3 separate regions of the Homo sapiens genome follow, and regions 1 and 2 are each linked to region 3. Evidence: promoter capture Hi-C in 16 types of primary human blood cells and fetal thymus (Javierre and others, 2016). All regions are on one chromosome and are shown on one strand. Each heading gives the region's core, a stretch centred on a gene start or on the middle of the fragment in contact. The rest is flanking DNA. Distances are from core to core; before and after follow the strand shown. Region 1 overlaps PRR16 (proline rich 16). Region 2 overlaps PRR16 (proline rich 16). Region 3 holds the start of FAM170A (family with sequence similarity 170 member A).

Region 1 (4,111 bases), core at 330-2,829, 960 kb after region 3:
GGCCTCTGGATGCTACTTTCATATGTTATCTTATTTTCCTTCCCAATGATCCCATAAGACAGGTGGTGCTATAGAGACACCAAGACTTGTAGACACTGGATCATTTCAATCTTCGTCAAAGCAGAAGGGGGCTGAAACTCCTCTCCTCTGATTTCAAGCCCCTGGTCTTTCTGCCTCACTAGATCATCTTAGCTGTTGTTTTCAGTCTCTCGAAAGTACTCTTTCAACTAAACAACAAAATATTTGCCCTTCCACCTTGGGAAAGACTCAATTGTTAAAACAGCTTTAAAATTAATGGACTTTGAATTGTTAAATAAGAATAAGACAGATATGTCAATTCCAACTATATGCCTGAGGAAAATGTGTTTCTTTATTGAGGGCTATGCTTCTTATTGTTTAAATTTTGAGTCAGTTGGGCTAACAGCACATACAATTACACAATAATGTAAGAAAACTGAGCTGATTTGAAGAATGAAGGACAAGGTTTTCTGTTTGGTTTAGAATTAAAAAGCTCAGCTGGGCATGGTGGCTCATGCCTGTAATCCCAGCACTTTGGGAGGCTGAGATGGGCAGGTCACTTGAGGTCAGGAGTTCGAGACCAACCTGGCCAACATGGTGAAACCCCGCTTCTACTAAAAATATAAAAATTATATTATATTACACAGGCAAGGGGGCAAGTGCCTGTAATCCAGCTACTCACGAGGCTGAGACAGGAGAATCTCTTGAACCCAGGAATTGGAGGATGCAGTGAGCTGAGATCGTGTCGTTCACTCCAGCCTGGCAGACAGAGTGAGACTTGGTCTAAAAAAAAAAAAAAGCTCCTTCTTCACACTACCCCACTCCTTTGCCATCTCCCCTAGATAATGTAGCTTAATTTTTTTTGTCTCCCATAATATTTGCATTCCATGAAGAACTTCAGCTGTGTTATTCAATACTTCAAGTTAGCATTTCAAGCTGAACGTATGTGTTTCAGGTACATTTCCTGAAATGAAATGAAGGTATTACCTTCATTTCCAGGATCCCTGTTATCTTGAAGTTTATTTACTACATAGAGAAATAAAATACAAAAATGTATTTTTGGGCCGGGTGCGATGGCTCATGCTTGTAATCCCAGCACTTTGTGAGGCCGAGGAGGGTGGATCACAAGGTCAAGTGATCGAGACCATCCTGGCCAACATGGTGATCCCTGTCTCTACTAAAAATACAAAAATTAGCTGGGCGTGGTGGCACGTGCCTGTAGTCCCAGCTACTCAGGAGACTGAGACAGGAGAATCATGTGAACCAGGGAGGTGGAGGTTGCAGTGAGCTGAGATTGTGCCACTGCACTCCAGCCCAGCAACAGAGCGAGACTCCATCTCAAAAAAAAAAAAATATGTTTTTGATTGATGAACACAACAACATCTTAATTGTTAAATGGAATATGTGCAACAACTGTAAAAAATAATTGACTGGGTTATAGGTCTTAAAAAAAGAGAGACCTAATTTACCAAACTACTTAGAGGAAGGAAAGCATAATTTTATCTTTATTTCAACTGTAATAATAAATTATCTTCTAAAGTAATACTGGCATACCTCATTTTATTACGATTCACTTTTTTGTGCTTCAGTTATTGTGTTTTTCACCAATTGAAGGTTTGTGGCAACCCTGTGTCTAGCAAATTTGTCAGCACTTTTTTTTTCTAACAGCGTGTGCTTACTTTGTATTTCTCTGTCACATTTTGGTAATCCCTACAATAATAATAATCATTATTATTACATCAGTTATGGTGATCTGTGATCAGTGGTCTTCAATGTTACTATTGTAATTCTTTGGGGTGCCACAAAAATGCCTATATAAGACTTCCAACTAATTGAGAAATGTTGTGTATGTTCTGACTACTACACTCATTGGCCATTTCCGTCTTTCTTCCTCTCCTTGGTCCTCTCTGTTCCCTAAGACACAATAATATTGAAATTTGACCAGTTAGTAACCCTGCAATGACCTCTAAGCATTCAAGTGAAAGGAAGAGTCCCACATCTCTCCTTTCAGTGAAAAGCTGGAAATGATTAAACTTAGTGAGGAGGGCATGTCTAAAGCCAAGACAGGCCAAAAGCTAGGCCTCTTGCACCAAACAGTTAGCCAAGTTGTGAATTCAATGGAAAGATTCTTGAAGAAAATTAAAAGTACTTCTCTGGTGAACACACAAATGATAAGCAAAACAGCCTTATTGCTGATGAGAAAGTTTTAGTGATCTGGATAGACGATTAAACATTTCCTTAAGCCAAAACCTGGTCCAGAGCAAATCCCTAAGTTTCTTCAATTCTGTGAAGGCTGAGAAACTTCATAAAGGCTAAAAGGTGAAGAAGATGTAGGAGAGAAATTTGGAGCTAGCAATGGTTTTATCATGGGGATAAGGAAATAAACAATTTCTATAACATAAAAGTGCAATATAAAGCAGCAGCAGATGATGGAGAAGCTGTAGCAAGTTATCCAGAAGACCTAAGATAATTGATTAAGGTGGCTACACTAAATAACAGATTTACAATGAAGATGAAATAGCTTTCTATTGAAAGAAGATGCCACCTAGGACTTTCATAGCTGGAGAGAAGTCAGTGCCTGGATTCAGAGTTTCAAAGGACATTCTGACACTGTTTTTAGGGGCTAATGCACCTGATGACTTTAAGTTGAAGCTGGTGCTTATCTGTCATTCTGAAAATCCTGGTGCCCTTAAGAATGATGCTAAATCTACTTTGCCCTTGCTCTAGAAATGGAACAACAAAGCCTGAATGAAAGCACATCTGTTTACAGCACGATAAACTGCATAAATTAAGACTACTGTTGAGACCTACTACTCAGAAAAAAATATTTCTTCTAAAATATCACTGCTCATTGGCAATGCACCTGGTCAACTAAGAACTCTGATGAAGATGTACATAAATTAATGTTGTTTTCATGCCTGTTATCACAACAGCCATTCTGCAGCTCATAGATCAAGGAGTAATTTTGACTTTAAAGTCTTATCATTTAAGAGTAATATTTCATAAGGTTATTGCTGCCATACATAGTAATTCTTCTGATGGATATGGGAAAAGTAAATTAAAAACATTTTGGAAAAGATTCACCATTATAGATGCCATTAAGAACGTTTGTGATTCATGGGAAGAATTCAAAATGTTGACATTAACTGGAGTTTGGAAGAAGTTGATTCCAACCCTCATGGATGACTTTGAGAGGTTAAAGACTTCAGTGGAGGAAGTAACTGCCTATGTGTAAATAGCAAGAGAACTAGAAGTAGTGCCTGAAGATATAACTGAATTGCTGCAATTTTATGATAAAAATTTAATGGATGAGAGATTTCTTTTTATGTATGAGCAAACAAAGTGGTTTCTTGAGATGATATCTACTTCTGGTGAAAATGTTGTGAACATTGATGACATAACAGATTTGGAATATTGCATAAACTTAGTTTTTAAAGCTATGGCGGGGTTTGAAAGGATTGACTCCAATTTTGAAAGAAATTCTACTGTGTGTAAAATGCTATCAGCCTCTCATGCTACACGTAAGTCTTTTGTGAAAGCAAGAGTCCATTCACGTGGCAAATTTTAGTGCTGTCTTATTTTAAGACTTTGCCACAGCCATCCCAACCTTAGCCCAACACCACCCTGATTATTCAGCAGCTATTGCTAACAAGGCAAGAGCTTCTACCATTAGAAGGATTTCAGCTTGTTGAAGGCTCAGATGACCATTAACATTTTTAGAAATAAAGTATTTTTAATTAAGGTATGCACATTTTTTTAGACATAATGCTATTACATACATATAGACTACAGTATAAAGTTGATTTTTATATGCAGTGGGAAACAGAAAAAATAGTATGGCTCTGGAACTAAATTCACAATACCTCCAAGGTATGCCTATATTTGTAAATTATATGCCTTGGTTTTAGCTTTTTATTGTGACCTTAAGTAATTCATCATTGAATGTAGAGCACAAATTCTGACAACATGCTCTTAACCCGGAATAAAACTTCCTTTTCTCTGTTCCTAATTTCATTTTTTAAAATAATAGGACAATCCAATCTTTAATTTCTCTAAGTCTCAAATAGGTTATCTCTCTCTGTCTAACCAATAG
Region 2 (4,565 bases), core at 823-3,322, 880 kb after region 3:
GGGGTTGACATGGGCGGTGATCATTGATGTAAGAAGGTCAGTCTTTGGAAGAAAATGATGTGGTCAGAAGAGAGGAGCTCAAGCAAAAATTCAGAGAAGGGCACTGAGCCAGTTTCTTGCTTCCCAGCCAAGCAGGTCCCTCAGTTACAGGGATCCCCTTTGAAGCCAAGACTCTTAAAGGTATGACAAAAACTGAGGAATTTTCATATTGCTTCTTAGGTATATTGAGTGCCAAAGAGTCGCATACCCTGGGATTACCTGTGCCATTCCAATAAATCCCCCAAGGCCCATAGTTACAGATCTGTAGGCAAAGAAATGCCTTGCATCTTCAAGGATTTGATTGCAGAAACTCATGGGAACAGGAGGAGGGGTTGATAATAGAAGGCAAGAATACTTTTATTGTAGCACCTCTCAGGTTCTTCAGGCTGTTATTTGTTCCTGGACATTTGGAATATAATCTGGGGAATCATGCTATATTTCAATCATTTCAAAATAATACTAAAAAAGAATTTCATGTGATTAATTTAATCCTCCCCTCTTTTCCTTCTGCTTTCTTTCTTCTCCCTTTCCAAACACTTTTCTGACTAGTGGAAATGAGTTGCAGGATAATATAAACTTAATGAAGCTTCTCATAAATATTTGAATTGAAAACTCTAATGTCTAAAGAAATACTGAAGGGGTCTTTAATAAAGAAACAATTTCTAATGCATTTGGTTATTAAAGCATTCCTGAGCAAATGCATTAAAACAATCCAAGTCCTGGATAAGAACACTTACAGGGCAGGGAATAGGTTGCTTAAAAGGTATTGAATGTGGCTGTTGCCTCCTGCTTGGGCAGGTGTCCAATCACAAATGGACTTCCCAAATGGGCTCCTTTGTACCCCACTTTATACTTGGAGAGGACTTGAGTAGTTGAAACTGAAATTCCAGAACTTGTTTCTCAAAATTTACTTTGAGATTATTTATCATAAGAAAGATCAGGCTATCCATCACTGGAGGATGAAGATTGAATGCATTTGGCGACTGTACAAGTGTCAGTTATTTCAATGAAAAAAGTGAATTGGGATTTTACACTTTTATTTTATAACAGATTGCTGCAGAGTCAAGTTTTAAACAGTTCAGAACCTTCTGTTGTCCCTTTGTCTTTGATTAATTTCTCAAAAGCTATAAAACAAATAAATTTTCATGAATTATTTAGCATGTCTACTTTAAACTGATATAGATATATACATTTTAAATTTACTGCTTCTCTTCTGAAAGTATGTATATATGTATGTATATACACACACGCGTATACATATGTGTATGAGTAATATGTATATATATACATACATAGGGATGATATATATGTGTGTATGTGTGTGTGTGTATATATATATATATATATATATACACATTTTTTCTACATAGAGTGCATCTAGTTTCATCACATTTACTTCATCATGTTCACTTGTAAGCCTGTATCATATGACAACCAATGAAACTTTTCTTGCCTTCAGAACTTAAAAGTATTGATTTCTTAGAAATGATGCTTTACAAATAAACAAGTACACAAATACATATTCTGTACAGAGGCTGTGGAGGGTCTTTCACATGAGTTCTCATTGAGTTACCATGTGGGTATGCTTGTTTTAATTTGCAATTTTCATAAAAAGTAGGTTTTAGGTATTCTTTATAACTTATTTCACATATATCTTTTTTTAAGGAAAAGATAAATACAATTTTATTTTAGAATAAATTCTTGCATAACAATATTAAAATATATTGAAATGTATTTTGATTACCTATTTCTAAAGATAAATAAATAAAAATCTGTTAGAGATATGGCCTGATGTACAATGAATAAATATAACGTAAGCTCAACTGATTTGTATCAGTTAGTACTGTATTCAGCCATGAATTATGGAAAACATGATTAACGGTGGCTTAAAGTTATGCTGGCCATTTTTATTATATAACAAGAAGTTCTGGGTAAAAGCCATTTTAACCAGAGTGAGATGATACCGTATCATAGTTTTGATTTGCATTACTCTGGGGCAGGCAGTCCAGGGATACAGCAACAGGTCCACAGTGTTATCAAAGGCCCAGGCATCTTCTATCTTTCTATTTCTCTATCCATTCATCCTTTCTATTCTAGACATGTTGTATGACTTTTCTCTTATGGTGGCAAGATGGCTGCTGCATCTCTATGTGTCACATCAGTTTCCAGGCCAAAAAAAAAGGCAGAGGAGGAAAAGACTAAAAAAATATTAAGAAGAGCTTGCCAACTGAGCCTATACTTTTAAGTTTCCCATTTGTTCCCATCTTATCTTTGAGCACAGTGGGGTCCCAAGATCAGAAGGGAGGCTAATGGGGGTCAGTATTTTAGCTTTCTGGCCTCAATAGAAGAAGGCAAGGCAACTGTTAATGGCCTTGGGAAGTAAATTTAATGTCTACTGCTCCATTCATTTCAACTTTCTACCAGTGGTAATACCAGGCTAAAGAAATACAATAGGAGAAATCCTTTCTGTGATGATTTGTCTTAAAGGACACTCCTATTTTTATTTTTGAGAATATATCTAGAATCCCTAAAGAAACTAGAAACATAAGGGCACCATCCCTTGCATAGTATGCCACAAATGCAGTTTGTATGAGATATATAATACCTTGCATCTACAATATTTAAAGATTTCTACCCTTTAAGGCATTTTTATGTTATATATACCTATGCTGTGAAAAATAAAACAGACATGAACAACTTATTTCCATTTTTGATGGAATATGTACATGAAGTATTTTACTTAAATTGCGAAACAAATGTTTCAGTGATCATCATTCCTGATTTATCAGCAGTGTTTCTCAGTGTGAAAAACCTTACAGTTAGCAAAAGTGGCAAATGTGTGACTGCATGCAGAACAGATGGAGTACCTCATCAATTTATTTTGATCATCTTACAGAAAAGTGTGATTCCTTCAGGATTAATAGTAAGGAGAGAACGATGACAAAATGTTGGACTGACATGACTTAGACATAGTTTGTATATATAAAGCCTGAAGACTCATATTCAGTGTTTTTGTCATTGTTATGGTTTCATTTTGCTTTGTTTTATATTTTTTTAATTAAAAGTTGCTTTTTTATTTTCTTACCAACAACTGCTAAGGAAAAGGCACGCTAGTTAACCATTTTTTTTAAGGTTGGTCTGAATTGTTAAATATGACAGTTTGAGCTTGGGTGTCTTTAAAAAAAATTACTGTCTGATGCAAGAATCAATGTAAACTTTCTATTTTTCAGAGACTTTCAAAACCATATTCTATTGGGTTAGATGACAGCTGGATGACAAAGCAGTGCATTTATAACAAGGGCAGATACTGCTACTTGCCTACCCACTATTTATTCCCTCCTTCTTCCTTAACATCAGAACCTCACTTTGGTTTGAGACACTAATGTGCCCACTAAATAACTATATTTCTCAACCTCTCCTACTAAATTGTGGTGCAGTCAGACTGGTGGTGCCTAAGTATGTCATTGGCGGGTTTTCTGGGAAAGCTTTTAAAGGGAGCAGACTCAGCTGCACATACCTTTCCTCTTTTTCCTTCCTTTTCTTCCCTTTCCCCTTCCTGGAATAAAAATAGGAATATCATGCAAGGAGACAAAACTTCCATCTTGAGAAGATGAGGACGAAAACTATATGCTGAGATGAATGGCATCTGCAGTAGTTACTATACACTTGTGGTTGTTACATCATCCTGGATTGCTTGAAATTTGACTTCTTGTTATGCAAAACTCTGTGTGCTGAAAACAGTGTTGTTTGGGTTTTCTTTTATATGCAATTGAACACAATTTTTAACTGTTACAATAACTTAAAGGAGAATGTGTGGAGTCTGATGACAATTTAATCTCTGTAGCAGTCTGCTGCAATATTATATAAGTAGTGTATTTGATGCTTTCTTCAGACGGGTAACAACCCAGGAAGCCTCAGTTGCTTTAGAAATTAGAAAAAAGAAAGGCTTTAGAACAATGGTGTTAGCCCCTCCCCATATCATTAGATTTCCGTATTTGTAGGGCTCAATCTTCTCCAGTATATCCAGAATATCCTTATAAATTGTGTCTTTAATTAACAGAGACTTATTTGGATAACGTCATTCTGCAAATATTTTACATTTTTACTTTGAGTGTTTTCCCCATATACAGGGATCATCTTAGGTTTTAAAGCATTAGTTTAAGGACAATAGCTATCATACAATTATATACTTTATCAACCACTGAATATATTAAATATATAAATGCTGCCCTGGCATAAGCTAAATCATGTCATAAGAAGGTCTAGGGCTATCATTGTCTGAAAATAAATATTTATTACTATATGCTCCTTTTTGTATATAACCTGTAACTTTTAGTTGGGTGAGGGGGGGGATAGTAAAGATAATTTGCTTAGTCAAATAAAAATTGTGAAGTTGAAAATATACACTGATGGGACTAGCTTTCTGTAAAATAGGTTGTTTAGATTATATAGCTCTGTCTTATGTTTATGTTGCCTGTGAATCTCGATAGTGAATTTTTAATTAGCTGGCAAAATGTAGTAGCACA
Region 3 (4,258 bases), core at 506-3,005:
GAATTTGCTTTAAAATACAGCAAGTCCCCCACTCCTCTATCTCAAACACCTAAATAAAAAGAAATGAACAAAAGACTAAAAGTCTGTGTGTGTGGTGGTTGGAACAAGAATGGCAGAATACTGATAACTGTTGAAACTGGATTATGTGTACATGAAACTGCATTCCTATTATACAATTCTCTCTACTTTAGTCTGAAAATTTCTACCACCCAAAAAAATGCTCTTTGGCCCCTCTTTTTTAGGGATTCTTTAAGAAACTGGAGATTTAATCTCATCAGCAAATTTTTACAAGGCTACATTTGCCCTATCTTCATTCTCCTTCTGCCTGGGGACAGTCTGCAGTGCCCTTTCAAATTTGGGCCCATCTTGGTCCTCTGGGTATTTCTACTGCTTTTTTAATGCAGTGATTTCTGGGAGTCCCCCTCATACTTGTCAACTAATAGTCCCACTGGACTGGGGCCACTGCCCCAAATAAGGTGTCTCTAATTTTAGATTGGAATCAGGAAGATCCAGATGGGTTGCCACTTATAACTGGTATACATTTCAGCCCATGAGCAGAGATGTGCAGGAAATAGTATGCAATTTTCTTATGTAACTCCATTTAATTTGTAATTTAAGCCTTGGTTCTGTTGATGTCCTCTTTGGATTTCCACCCCTCCCTATTTGGAAATCATACAGGGCTGAGGTTTTGAGGGTGGGGTGAGAGCATAGTCTCTGGTTATTGGAGCATACAGCTGAAGTTTAGATGCCCATCAGCTCAGCTGCCAGGGAGTCTTTAGGTGGTGTGGCTCCTATGCCATGTGTGAGATAGGTCGCCATGATTCTGCCTGTACGCATAATACAGGCAGCCCTTCTTGAAGTTTTTGCCACATGTACCTCTTCAGCCACATTTTAGAGGGCTCCTCTCCTCCATAGTTTGAAGATCCCTCTCTCTCTCTGACCTAATCAGTACCTCTCAACACTATAGTAGAGCAAGAAGGGGGCATGCCTAGTTAAAAAAAATCCTGCTTCCGTTATGTTTCTGCTAACTTTCCTCTTTCCTACAGAGTTTGAGATTTTAGAAATAAAAGTCAGGTGGGGTGTGGTGGCTCATGCCTACAATCCTAGCACTTTGGGAGCCTGAGGCAGGAGGATAGCTTGAGGCTAGGAGTTCAAGACCAACCTGGGCAACATACTGAGACCCTGTTTCTCAAAAAAAAAAAAAAAAAAAAAAATTAGCCGGGTGTGGTGCCTCGTGTCTGGTGCCTGTTGTCCCAGCTACTCGGGAGGCTGAAGTGTGATGATCACTTGAGCCTAGGGGCTGAAGTGACCCTATGATCACACCACTGCAATCCAGCCTGGGCAACAGAGAGAGACCCTGTCTCTGAACAAACAAAACAAAATAAAAACAACAAAAAAAAAAAAAAGAAAGAAAAGTCAAGATGATTAACATGCTATTGCTGCTTTCAGCCCTGCCATACCCCTCCTCTGAGCAATGAACACAAAGCCTGCTACCTGCTTGAGTCCAGAAGGGAAAGGGTGAAAAAAAAAGAAGAAAAGAAAAAAATTAAACAGAACATGTTAACATCTCAAAATATTCTGCCACATTTGAAATACGGGAGAGTTGAATTCATTAGAGGACTTCTATTGGAAAAAAGGAATTGTTTTTGAAAATGATGTCTCTGCAGTTGCACAGACTGTGTTGGACCTAGGTCCGTAGAACGCCGTGATGTCATCATTGATGTCAGAGAATCTGCGATGGGCCTGGTGACCTTTGAACCTTAACAGCCCTGCAGTGTAGTGGGCACTGGGCAGTGCTGCTCCTTCACTAAGCGGTCTGAGTTCTTTAGCTATCTCGGAGATTCAACTACGTTTACTCGTACTGAATCTTTTTAATGAATTTCCTGAGAGCCAAGAAGGGCCAATCTACAGGAAAAAGTGGGAGGTGGACATTAAGCATCTTCTAGAAACTCTTCTAGCTGATATCATGAAACGACGACAAAAGAGGAAACATTTGGAAAATGAAGAGTCCCAGGAAACCGCTGAGAAGGGAGGAGGTATGTGCGGGGCAAACTTTCTGGGGCACAAGCGTCACTGGCCAGCCTGAGCCGCCTTCTTTTTCTTTTTTGAGACGGAGTCTCGCTCTATCGCCCAGGCTGGAGTGCAGTGGCGCGATCTTGGCTCACTGAAAGCTCTGCCTCTCGGGTTCACGCCATTCTCCTGCCTCAGCCTCCCGAGTAGCTGGGACTACAGGTGCCCACCACCACGCCCGGCTAATTTTTTGTATTTTTAGTAGAGACGGGGTTTCACCGTGTTAGCCAGGATGGTCTCGATCTCCTGACCTCCTGATCCGCCTGCCTCGGCCTCCTTTTTTTTTTTTTTTTCGTTTCTGAGACAGAGTCTTGCTCTGTCGCCCAGGCTGGAGTGCAGTGGTGTGAGCTCGGCTCACTGCAAGCTCCGCCTCCCAGGTTCACGCCATTCACCTGCCTCAGCCTCCCGAGTAGCTGGGACTATAGGCGCCCGCCACCACGCCTGGCTAATTTTTTTTTTTTTTTTTTTTTTTGTATTTGTAGTAGAGACAGGGTTTCACCGTGTTAGCCAGGATGGTTTCGATCTCCTGACCTCATGATCCACCTGCCTCGGCCTCCCAAAGTGCTGGGATTATAGGCGTGAGCCATCGCTCCCGGCCAGCCTGAGCCTTCTTTAGGGAGGAGAAACTGAGGAGAATGTACCACCTATGCAGTAGGGAGGGGAAGACCTGGCTGTTGGCTGATGCCCGCACATCCATCTTGAGGGTACCCAGATGTGAGACGGACAGGAAGTTCAGATGCCACTGGCACACAGAAAGCCAACCCTGCTGGGCTGAGAACTTTTGCTCTGGGGCTGCTGGTACCTGGAACTATGCCAGTCTCAGGCAGGCGGGGGACCCACTTACAAAGACCCAGTGATGCAGCCTGAGTCTCATCTTTCTCTCGTATTCTCTTTATTTGCTCTTTCTCTGGGGTGACTGAGGTGGAAGGTGTGAAGGGTGCTGGTAGAAGTCTATGATTTGCACTACACCTTTTAGCAGAAACGAGAGTAGCCCAATGAGTTAAAGGCCTTGTTGAAAAATATCTTGAGAAGTGAAATGCTTGTTAGAAAGTAGATTAAACACTTGTTTAGGGATGGCGTCATAGTGAAACCACGGAGGTTTGATTGCTTCAGCGGGAAGAATTAACCAATTAATCCAATAGAGTTTGTGAATCCACAGTGTGGGACTTCCCAGAGGAAATGAAGCACAGGGTAAGGGCCTCAGATCGCTGTCAATTTACTTCCCAGGCTGCATGATAATGGCATGTATTAAATGTAAACAAGCCACTTATCCTGAAAGGGGGATGCTCACATGCAGGAGACAGGGCAGAAAGGAGCCTGCCCCAGAGATGGCCCTGGAGGCTTCTGCCCCGATTAGAGCTCAGCAGCGCCTATGAGGCATAAAGACCTGTAGGTTGAGCCCTGGGAATGGAGGCGTGGAGAGTAGGCATGGAGAGCAGGGGGCTGGGACAGGAAGGGGAAGGCAATGGTTTTCCTCTCCTTCATCTACCCTTACATTTCAGAATGTTTTGTCTGCCTGTGTGTGTGTCTGTGTGTGCACATGTGTGTGTGTGTTGGGAGGGGGAGGACTGGAGATAATGGGAGCACAGTGGTGGGGTCTGCGGGGTGAACTTCCTATCACCATGCCTGGGCCTGGGCAACACTCAATACACATAACAGTGTATACCGAATTTTTGTTAAGGGTATTCCAGGAGACAGTCACTCATATGCCCATATATACTCTGATACAGAGAAAGAGTCACACACCTCCACACACAGTGGATATAGTTATATACACATACCGTTCCTCTATTACATACTCACACAACCCATGTGTGTGACAGTCTTTTCTTCCTACAGAGATTTCTTGTGTGTGGGGAGTGTGTGTGTGTGTCTCCTCAACTCTCACACAAACACATCTATGTTAAACTATCTCTAAATACCTCTTTAAGAGCCAGTCACACATCATACATGCCATATCTGCAACACATTGTGTAGCAGAGCCAGGCCTGCTTTGCATAGACCACAACGAAACAAAGATTCACCACCATCCCCTTATTAGGGTTGCCGGATAAAATACAGGATGTTCAGTTAAACTTGAATATCAGATAAACCACCAATGATTTTTTAGTATAAGTGTGTCCCAAATATTTTATGGAACATACTGACACTAAAAATAAGTATGACAAATATTGCACGGGACATACTT

The links. The method cuts DNA at HindIII sites, captures the fragments that hold promoters and counts their contacts. A CHiCAGO score of 5 or more calls a contact.
Region 1: a contact is called between a fragment that was not itself captured here and the fragment with the promoter of FAM170A in region 3, in 1 of 17 cell types (neutrophils). The highest score is 7.8, in neutrophils.
Region 2: a fragment that was not itself captured here is called in contact with the fragment with the promoter of FAM170A in region 3 in 1 of 17 cell types (neutrophils); the score reaches 6.7 in neutrophils.

What each region holds. Positions count from the first base shown.
Region 1 is chr5:120,584,814-120,588,924 of GRCh38, forward strand. All of the region lies in intron 1 of PRR16 (proline rich 16), which reads left to right. Among named protein-coding and RNA genes, the nearest start is that of PRR16, 120 kb to the left of the region's middle. The HindIII fragment of the contact is 5,467 bases long and covers 1-4,111 here.
Region 2 is chr5:120,504,580-120,509,144 of GRCh38, forward strand. The region is part of intron 1 of PRR16 (proline rich 16); the gene reads left to right. Among named protein-coding and RNA genes, the nearest start is that of PRR16, 43 kb to the left of the region's middle. The HindIII fragment of the contact is 2,899 bases long and covers 624-3,522 here.
Region 3 is chr5:119,627,803-119,632,060 of GRCh38, forward strand. FAM170A (family with sequence similarity 170 member A) reads left to right here and starts at 1,756. Exons shown (of 5, transcript NM_001367956.1): 1 at 1,756-2,036. The coding sequence starts at 1,967. The HindIII fragment of the contact is 9,079 bases long and covers 1-4,258 here.